Regions from separate parts of the Homo sapiens genome. Here all the other regions are linked to region 1. Evidence: promoter capture Hi-C in 16 types of primary human blood cells and fetal thymus (Javierre and others, 2016). All regions are on one chromosome and are shown on one strand. The core of a region is centred on a gene start or on the middle of the fragment in contact, and the rest is flanking DNA. Distances in the headings are between cores, read along the strand shown.

Region 1 (2,728 bases), core at 130-2,629:
GCCCTGAGCCCTGCTTTTCCTACTCTCCGGTCCCTTACCCGGGCTTTGAAAGGATCATTCTTGGTCATGTCATCCAGCAGTGAGGACAGAGAGTCGATCTCCAAATCAATACTGCTCACCTTCTCCCTGGGCTAGAGGGTCAGAGGTCAGAGCACCTATTCCATGCCTCTATCCCCCCACCCCCAAGGCAGAGGTGCAGGGGAGGTAAGAAGAAAGGGCCCTCTTCTCCTCTCCTTGGGGGTGTCCAGTGCAGCCGCCCCTCCCAGGCCTCCGTACCTGTGGTGGGGGCGGTATGGGGGCCTCAGGCCCTCCCTCCTCCTCCGGAGGAGGCGGCGGGGAAGGGAAGATCTCCTCCTCCAGAGGCGCAGGGGGAAATGATTCCTCGATCGGGGGAGGGGGCGGCGGGAAGGCACCTCCCAGAGCACCCTCTGCATCGTCGCCATCCCCAGCAAGGGGAGGTGGAGGCAGGGGAAAGTCTGGGGTAGGAAGGAGAAAGACGTCGGCCGGGGTCCCTCTACCCCTCACCCAAGCTCCCCTCAGTTAACCGCTCTAACCCCTAACCCAAGAACTCTCTCAGGGGTCCCAGAGCGTGTGGGGAAGCAAAGGAGGGGCGCAGGGCGCCCTGGGAGTACCAGGTCAGGAAAGGCCGGGCGCACTGCCGAGGAGTGGTGCAGCTCCCGTTACACTTCGGAAAACGGACCCGGAGGGGAAGATTCGTGCCCCACATTCCCGACTCCCACTCCCAGGCGGGGGACTTGGAACGGTCCCAGGAGCCCTGGCTCCCAGCCACGAGCTCCACGATGAGGTAAGAACATCTGCTCGGGACAGGGTGGCTGCGCCCAGCCCCCTCGGCAACAACCTTTCCAGACATCCCCAAATTCCCGAAACGACTGCCCCCCACCCCGGCTCCTGCCGGGGTACATTCCCCAAGCCCCGCCGCATACCTTCCGGGGGCGGCGGGGGAATCTCGCCCACCCGGCCCATCTGTGCGCGCTGGGCCCCGGGTGCCGGGGGAGGCTCGCTGTCCCCGGGCCGGAAGGGATTCACTTTGGGCTTTGGGGCCACCACAGGGCCGAACTTCTTCTGCGGGGCGTAAAAAGCCGGAGCCGAGACCGAAACGGAGATCGCGGGAGACGGGCGGGGGGCCGCCATGGCCGGGCCGGGCTGCTGGGGTGGGTCGCCGGGTTACGCAGCGCGGAGCCGGGCTCAGGAGCCCCAGGCGGTCCCAGCTCCCCTTGGTGACCCCCACTCGCCCCCTCCCGGCGCCCCGCGCCCCCTCCCCGTGGGGCCGCCCTGCCGCTCCCCGCGCCTCACCGCAGGCCGGAGCGTGCGCGCCGCGTCTCGGGTGGCCGCCTCGGCGCCGGGTCCGCAGACTCTGCGTCCCGGTCCGGAGCAGCCTCCAGCCGGGCGGGGAGGGACACACGGAAGGAGGAGGGAGGGAGAAGAGAGGGGGCGGGGAGAGAGCGGCGCCCAGACCATACAAGGAGCGGCCCGGAGAGGGGGCGGGGAGAGCGGGGAAGGGCGGACCAGGCAGGAAACTCCCCCAGGAAGGGGCCCTGATCCTGCCTCAGGCCGGAGGCTCCGCCGAGGTCCGCTCGCCCCCACCCCACTCACTGCCGCCCCCGCCGCCCCAGCCCGGCTCAGACCCCCACTCCCTGAGCACAGGCCTCTGATGTCATTTCCTGACCTGCCTCCCCCTCCCCGCCCGACCCGCGGGTGCCCGAGATCTGACTCACCGTCCCCCTCCGGGCTTAGCCGGCGGAGGTGGGGCGGGTGCCGCCGAGGTAGCCACGCAGCCCCTGTGCGCCTCCGGCCCGGCCCAGCGACCTCCTCTCGGGCCTGCCGTTACCCGGTCCCCTCCTGCCACCACCCGCTACCCGGCCACCCCGAGTCCGCCTGGGGTGGCCGAACGTATGGAGCTGGGCTCCAGGGTGCACGGGGATGGGGGGTGAGGAGCGGGGCGTTCTCCCTCCCAGCACCCCCCAGCTGACTCTGTGCCCGGAGGGGGTGTGTGAGCCGGAACCTCCAGCATTCTTGGGGATACGAACTTCCAACGCTGGGCAGCCTCTTAAGGCTTCTAGGAATTCGCATCCCCAGCGCCCCAGCCAGCAGATCGGTTGCGAGAGGGACCGTTCGGGTCCGCGGGGCCGGGAATGGAGGTGGGAGGGCGGGGCCGAGGCGGCGGCCGCCTGCGGACTGGAGACCCGGGAGGACGGACGCGGACGCGGGCTGCTCGTCTTTTACGGCCCTTCAACGCCCACCACGACCCACTCCTCTTGGAGACCCCGGGCGACGGTGGGGCTCTTGGGCATTCTGAGACTGCGCTTGGTGGAGACCCCGGGCGACGGTGGAGCTCTTGGGCATTCTGAGACTGCGCTTGGTGGAGCCCCCTACTGGCCAGACTGGATTTCTCAGCCTGCGACTCAGCCCCAGGCTACACGAAAGAAGCCAGACCTGGGTAATTCTTCTAGTTCTTTTTTTTTTTTTTTTTAATTGCACTGGGAAACTTCCCCAATCTCGGCCCCAGTTCTTTCTCCAAACTAAGGAGTCATGGCCTTTCGCCCGCTAGTCCAGTATGCACCCGTAGGCGCTTCATTTTCTCTCCTCTTGTCAGCTTTTACTGCCTCCTGAGGCCTTCGTCTTGTTCACACTGAGTGTCCAGTCCCTCCAAATCCGGCTACACTCTACTGGCAAGGAGCACCTGGGCCATGTTTTAGAGATCATCCGA
Region 2 (2,728 bases), core at 158-2,657, 580 kb after region 1:
CAGCAGCTCCCGACCATCCCCACTCCCCAACCTTATGTGGCCCAGCAATGAGCCTAGTAGTAGGAAAATCTCTATGGATACTGGTGCTGATGGGAAGATTCTTCCTCTCAGGAAGTGATGGTGACTGGGGCTCTGGGATGCTCACGGGAATCCCATTTCCCCCACAAAGAAGTTATTTTATTACACAACCATTTGGATGACCCCCTTTTTCTTCCAATTTCCCAAATAAATCTGTAAAGGTCACAGGTGAAGTTCTTCTCTTTAAGAGCTACTCCATGCTAAGTTCAGCGAGAACTTGGGGTACCCTAGACATTCTTCCAGAGATGCTTTTCTTGTAACTCTTTTCAATAAGTAAGCATGCTTTGCTCTGCACTGGGTGTCACCTGTGTTGGATGCTGTTGTCCCTGCCTTGCCCTATATTCTGTCCACATGGTTTCTTCATAGGATGATGCTTAGGTCAGCCCTGAGGTTTGAACCAGTCAACAAGTCCAGGTTGGTGTGGAGTCCCTTTAGTACCTCCCTTTGCAGGAATAATGCTGCACCCAGAAACTCCCTCAGAGCCTCTCCACTGGAGGGGCCTTGTGACCATTCCTGGTTTACTCCTCTTGTTCCAGCATCCCATGTGGCCAATGGGCCCCTTTCATTTTCAATGGTATCTCAATTCTTACAGTAAGTTATATTATTGCCCTACATCGAACTCATCTTTTCTCAGTGTTACCTGAGGAAGAATGGAGAGGATGCCCAGAATTGGCCCAGAAGAATCCACTTCGATTCTAGAGAAAAAGGCAGGTAGAGGCAGAAGAGATTCACTTCCCAGTGCATGCGTGCTGAATGTTGGGGGTGTTGTTTGAGAGAGACAAGGAAATGGCTGTAAAAACTTGGGAAGAGGAACCTGCCCTGGGTCAAGTAGGGTGTTGGGAGGACCAGATGGAGCTTGAAGCTCTCTCCATCTCTGTCAAGTCCCCTGGACTGAGAGGGTAAAATTCACATGGCCTTTTATCCTCCAGAGGAGAATTCATTCACCTGGGTCTGATTGCAAACTCTAGGGTACTAACAAGAAACTCCTCCCACATCCTCCCACCTGCTAATGCCTCCGTTTTCCACGTCCCCAAGATGATGGCCATCAAACTAACAGACACTATCTTTCTTCTACAAGGTGTTTCCCCCTTCCCACCTCCACTCTAATCTTGCACTACAGCTGCTCAGCCCCTCACAGCTCTGCCCACACAAACCACTATCCTCCAATATCCCCAGTCCTAGCCTGCGCCCTCTGGCCCCCACAGTTCTGCTCTCTCTGAAGTGCTTCCTTGTTCCCTCGGCTGCTCATCCTCCTGTCCTACCTTTGCGAGGAGCCACAAGGATATGCCTGCTGCCTCCACGCAGGTCTAAGGAGTGGGAAGCATGAATGTTGGTCTAGGGCCTAAAGCCTGTCCCCTTTGTTTTAGGCTTTTTTTTAGCCAATATAAAAACAAACCAGCACATATGTAACAACAATAGCCAACAAAATACTATACTGCATTTTGAGCAGTCTAGAGATAGTTACGACTGATGGAAATGACCGGCATGTGATGAGTTTCCTGGGCCCCATCCCTGCTGTGAGCACATCCTTTCCTGGTCTTTGCAAGCTGCCACCAGAGAACCCTCTTCTCCAGTTCCAAGATCCCCAGTGTAGTGGGAAGAAGAGTGTTCCCCCAGAATTCATGCCCACTCAGAAACTCAGAATGTGACCTTATTTGGAAATAGGGACTTGGCAGGTATAATTTGTTAAGATCTCTCAATAAAATTGTTCTGGATTTAGGGTGGGCCCTAAATCCTAAGACCATGCCTTGAAAAGAGAAAGGAGAGGGGAGCTTAAATGCAGAGACACAGGGAAAATGCCATGTGAAGACAGAGGCAGAGATTGCTGCGATGCTGGCACAAGCCAAGGAGTGCCAGAAGCCATCAGACATGGGAAGAAGCAGGAAAGGATTCTCCCCTAGAGCTGTCATACAGGATGACCCGCTGACATCTTGGTGTTGTATCTTTAGCCTCCAGAACTGTGAGAGAATAAGTTTTTATTGTTTTAAACCCACCAGTGGTACTTTGTTACGGCAGCCGTGGGAAACAAAGACACCAAGGCATTAAGGTGTCTTCAGTGTGTTACCATGGGCCCTGCCTGGAGTTTGGGAGAAGCTGCTCTAGGATCACCCAGATACCAGGAGCAATCCCACCATCCTGGTAACTACTTGGAAAAAGTTTCCAGAATTGCCATCTTCAGCAGAACATGCCACGGTTTCACAACTCATAAGTAATTTGAACTGTAATCTTCAGTTTCCACATCTATAACATGGGGAAAATAATACCTGTTCCTGGGATCATTGTGCAGATGCAGACAGCACAGGTAGCAGCGTCCAGCCTGAGGCCTGAAGCAAGCAGGCTCTCAACAAAGGGCTCCCTCCTCTTTCCCAACCTTTCTCTGCTTTCAGACTTCTCTTCTCTCCCCTGACAGTCTTCCTCAACTAACTTCGACATGGCCTCTCTCAGCCCCTCTCACTGTTCTAGGCCTCCTTTTCTTTAATCCCATTCCTCCTCTTCCTCCATGTAGTGTTTTACCACAATGCATTCAGCCTGTATGCAGAATTTACCTTGACAGGATAACTGTCTTTGCCCAAGTAGGAGCAGTTAACACCTTGTGTTTGGAGTGGTTTGGTTTCCATCCATCAAACGAAGAAGCCCATTGGAAGGGCTA
Region 3 (2,728 bases), core at 87-2,586, 550 kb after region 1:
CAGGCACGTGCCACAATGCCCAGCTAATGTTTGTGTTTTTTTTTTAATAGAGACGGGGTTTCACCATGTTGGCCAGGATCGTCTCGATCTCTTGACCTTGTGATCCACCCGCCTTGGCCTCCTAAAATGCTGGGATTACAGGCGTGAGCCCCTGCGCCCGGCCATGTGGAGTTTCAATAAACACTGCCAAATTACCCTCCATAAAGACTGTTGCAGTTTACTTTCCAGCTGTGCATGAGAGCATGTTATTTCCCTACATGCTTGCCAACATCAGATACTATTGATTCTTTTAATTATGCCAATCTGATGGGTGAAATGGTGGGTTTTTAAAAACATTACATTCAACCGATCATTAGATCTAGCCTCTTTCTGTATGTATGTTGGCCTTCCTCAGTGCAGGTCTATCTTTTACGCATTTTCTCTTCTTTTCCTATTTCAGAGGAAAAAAGTTCCCCCTTCTTGATGTCCAATAATTAATCCACATGCCTCTTTGTTTCTCAAATATCTTCTTTCTTTAGCATCTTCAATTTTCCTGTCTTTATGTAGTTCTTCCTCTTGGCTTTCTATATAATCAGACTATAAATACGTTGGAATAAAAGACTGTATTCAACTCTACCATTCCCTTTAACCTCTCCCTTACTCGCTCTGCCCCTAAACTTGTCAAATGAGTGCTCTGAATCTGCTACTTTCTCCTCCTCTAGTCAACAACATCGGTGAAGTCATTCAGTCCTAATTTTACTGAATTTTTAAAGTTCTTTTAAATCCTGCTGCCACCTCTTTGTACCCACAGTCTCCTCTGAACTTCCAAGATACCATCCCATTTCTTGTCTTCCCTCTAGAACTACTTTCTTAATTTCTTAAGCTTACTTTTCCCCTCCTTTTACCTATAAGTGTGGATGTTCAACAGTTTTTATTTTTGGACCTTTGTTCCTTTTTCTTCACTTGTTGCTTTGGAGATCTCATCCATTCCAAACATTTCAACTATTTTCTCTCTGCGGATGACCCCTGAAGTCAGTATTTCTAGTCCTGGTGTCTCATTAAAAATCCAAATTTTCACTTGCACTTTTCTGATTGAATTGGACTCAATGTGACTTCAAGGTCAGAATGACAAATGACATTTAGTATCTTCCTCTCTCTCAAACTGAATTCTGTGATTTTATCAACTTTTTTTTTTTTTGTATGTAATGAGAAACAGAACATCTTACTTTCCAAGTAGTGAATTCTCCCTGGATAGAGACTAATTTTGTCTACTGAATACTTTGATGAGTCACTTTTGATGTAGGGGAATAGGTGAGAGGGCAACCTCAGGAAGGACTGAGCTTGTAGAGAAAGAGGTGGCTATGCAACTGCTTTCCAAGTGGTGCTGAGCTGCTGTTACACTTTTGTTTTGCTGGATACACTTTCAAGAGCTGAATTGTCTGGGGCTATAATGAGGATGGCAGTGGCTGTGGAAAGAAAGAGGAGGAAAAAGGTAGCTGGCAACCAGAATGGAAATTTGGCAAAAGAACAGACACGTTTAAGAGGGATTTTATGAGGCTCTGCCCTGCTCCACTGCATGCATGATATACTTGCTTACTTATCTCTCTGGAAAATCTTCAGCACAAAACCTTTTCTTACTGATTGATTGTGATTAATTGCAGTTAATTAGTTAAAATGTGGCATTAATTATTGACATTCTCTTGCTTAAATTTTCTCAGTGGTTTTCTGTTGTCCTAACACTGTATCAAAAATAATTCTTTCTTTTACAGCTTTATTAAAATGCACTTGACAAACAATAGACATCTTTAAAATGTACAATTTGGTAAGCTTTGACATACGCAAACACCTGGGAAACCATCATAAAACTTAATGTAATGAACTTACACATCACCTCCAAAAGTTTTGCTGTGGCCCGCTATTTATTTATTTATTTAAATTTCAACTTTTATTTTAGATACAGGGAGAACATGTGCAGATTTGTTACATGGGAATATTGCCTAATACTGAGGTTTGTACTGAGGTTTGAAGTACAGATCTTGTCACCCAGGTACAGAAGATAGTGCCTGATAGGTAGTTTTTCAAAACACTTCCCCTTGTCTCTCTCCCCCTTCTGGTAGTTCACAATGTCTATTGTTCCATTGTTTATATCCATGTATGCTCAATGTTTAGTTCCCACTTTTAAGTGATAACATGCGATATTTGGTTTTCCGTTCCTGGATTAATTTGCTTAGGATTATGGCCTCCAACTGCATCCATTTTGCTGCAAAGAACATAATTTCATTCTTTTTTTATGGCTGCGTACCATTCCATGGTGTATATGTACCACATTTTCTTGATCCAATCTACCATTGATGGGCACCTGGTTTGATTCCATGTCTTTGCTATTGTGAATAGCCTTGTGGCTTTTTATAATTCCATCCTTCTCTCCATGCTGTTCCCAGACAAACACTGATAGAGTGCTTCTTCTATTACTATAGATTTCTTTGTGTTTTCTAGAATTTAATATAATGCAATTATAAACTATGTACTCTTTTTTGTTTCTTTACTTTTATTCATCATATTATTTTGAGATTTATCTATGTTGTTTTAAATTTAAATAGTTCATTCTTTTTATTGCTAATTTTCCTTTGTGTGGATACATGACAATTTCAGCATTAGTTCGCCCATTAATAGGCAATTGGATTTTTTCCAAATTTTGACTATTACAAATAAAATTGTTATGAAAATTTGTGTCTTTGTGTGGACCTGT

Evidence for each region. The method cuts DNA at HindIII sites, captures the fragments that hold promoters and counts their contacts. A CHiCAGO score of 5 or more calls a contact.
Region 2: a fragment that was not itself captured here is called in contact with the fragment with the promoter of ZYX in region 1 in 1 of 17 cell types (naive CD8 T cells); the score reaches 5.1 in naive CD8 T cells.
Region 3: a fragment that was not itself captured here is called in contact with the fragment with the promoter of ZYX in region 1 in 1 of 17 cell types (activated CD4 T cells); the score reaches 5.4 in activated CD4 T cells.

Annotation. Positions count from the first base shown.
Region 1 is chr7:143,379,996-143,382,723 of GRCh38, reverse strand. ZYX (zyxin) reads right to left here and starts at 1,379. Exons shown (of 10, transcript NM_003461.5): 1 at 1,315-1,379; 2 at 945-1,167; 3 at 277-476; 4 at 39-131. The coding sequence starts at 1,152. FAM131B-AS2 (FAM131B antisense RNA 2) reads left to right here and starts at 1,699. Exons shown (of 2, transcript NR_161353.1): 1 at 1,699-2,458; 2 at 2,615-2,728. It overlaps MIR6892 (microRNA 6892), which reads right to left and starts at 38; the gene lies at 1-38. It also overlaps a transcript of FAM131B not described here. RefSeq lists silencers at 860-909, 940-1,969 and enhancers at 2,470-2,559, 1,683-2,583. The HindIII fragment of the contact is 8,995 bases long and covers 1-2,728 here.
Region 2 is chr7:142,803,340-142,806,067 of GRCh38, reverse strand. It overlaps TRB. Among named protein-coding and RNA genes, the nearest start is that of PRSS2, 34 kb to the right of the region's middle. RefSeq lists a cis regulatory region at 964-1,365. The HindIII fragment of the contact is 5,985 bases long and covers 1-2,728 here.
Region 3 is chr7:142,826,899-142,829,626 of GRCh38, reverse strand. No RefSeq gene overlaps it. Among named protein-coding and RNA genes, the nearest start is that of EPHB6, 27 kb to the left of the region's middle. The HindIII fragment of the contact is 944 bases long and covers 865-1,808 here.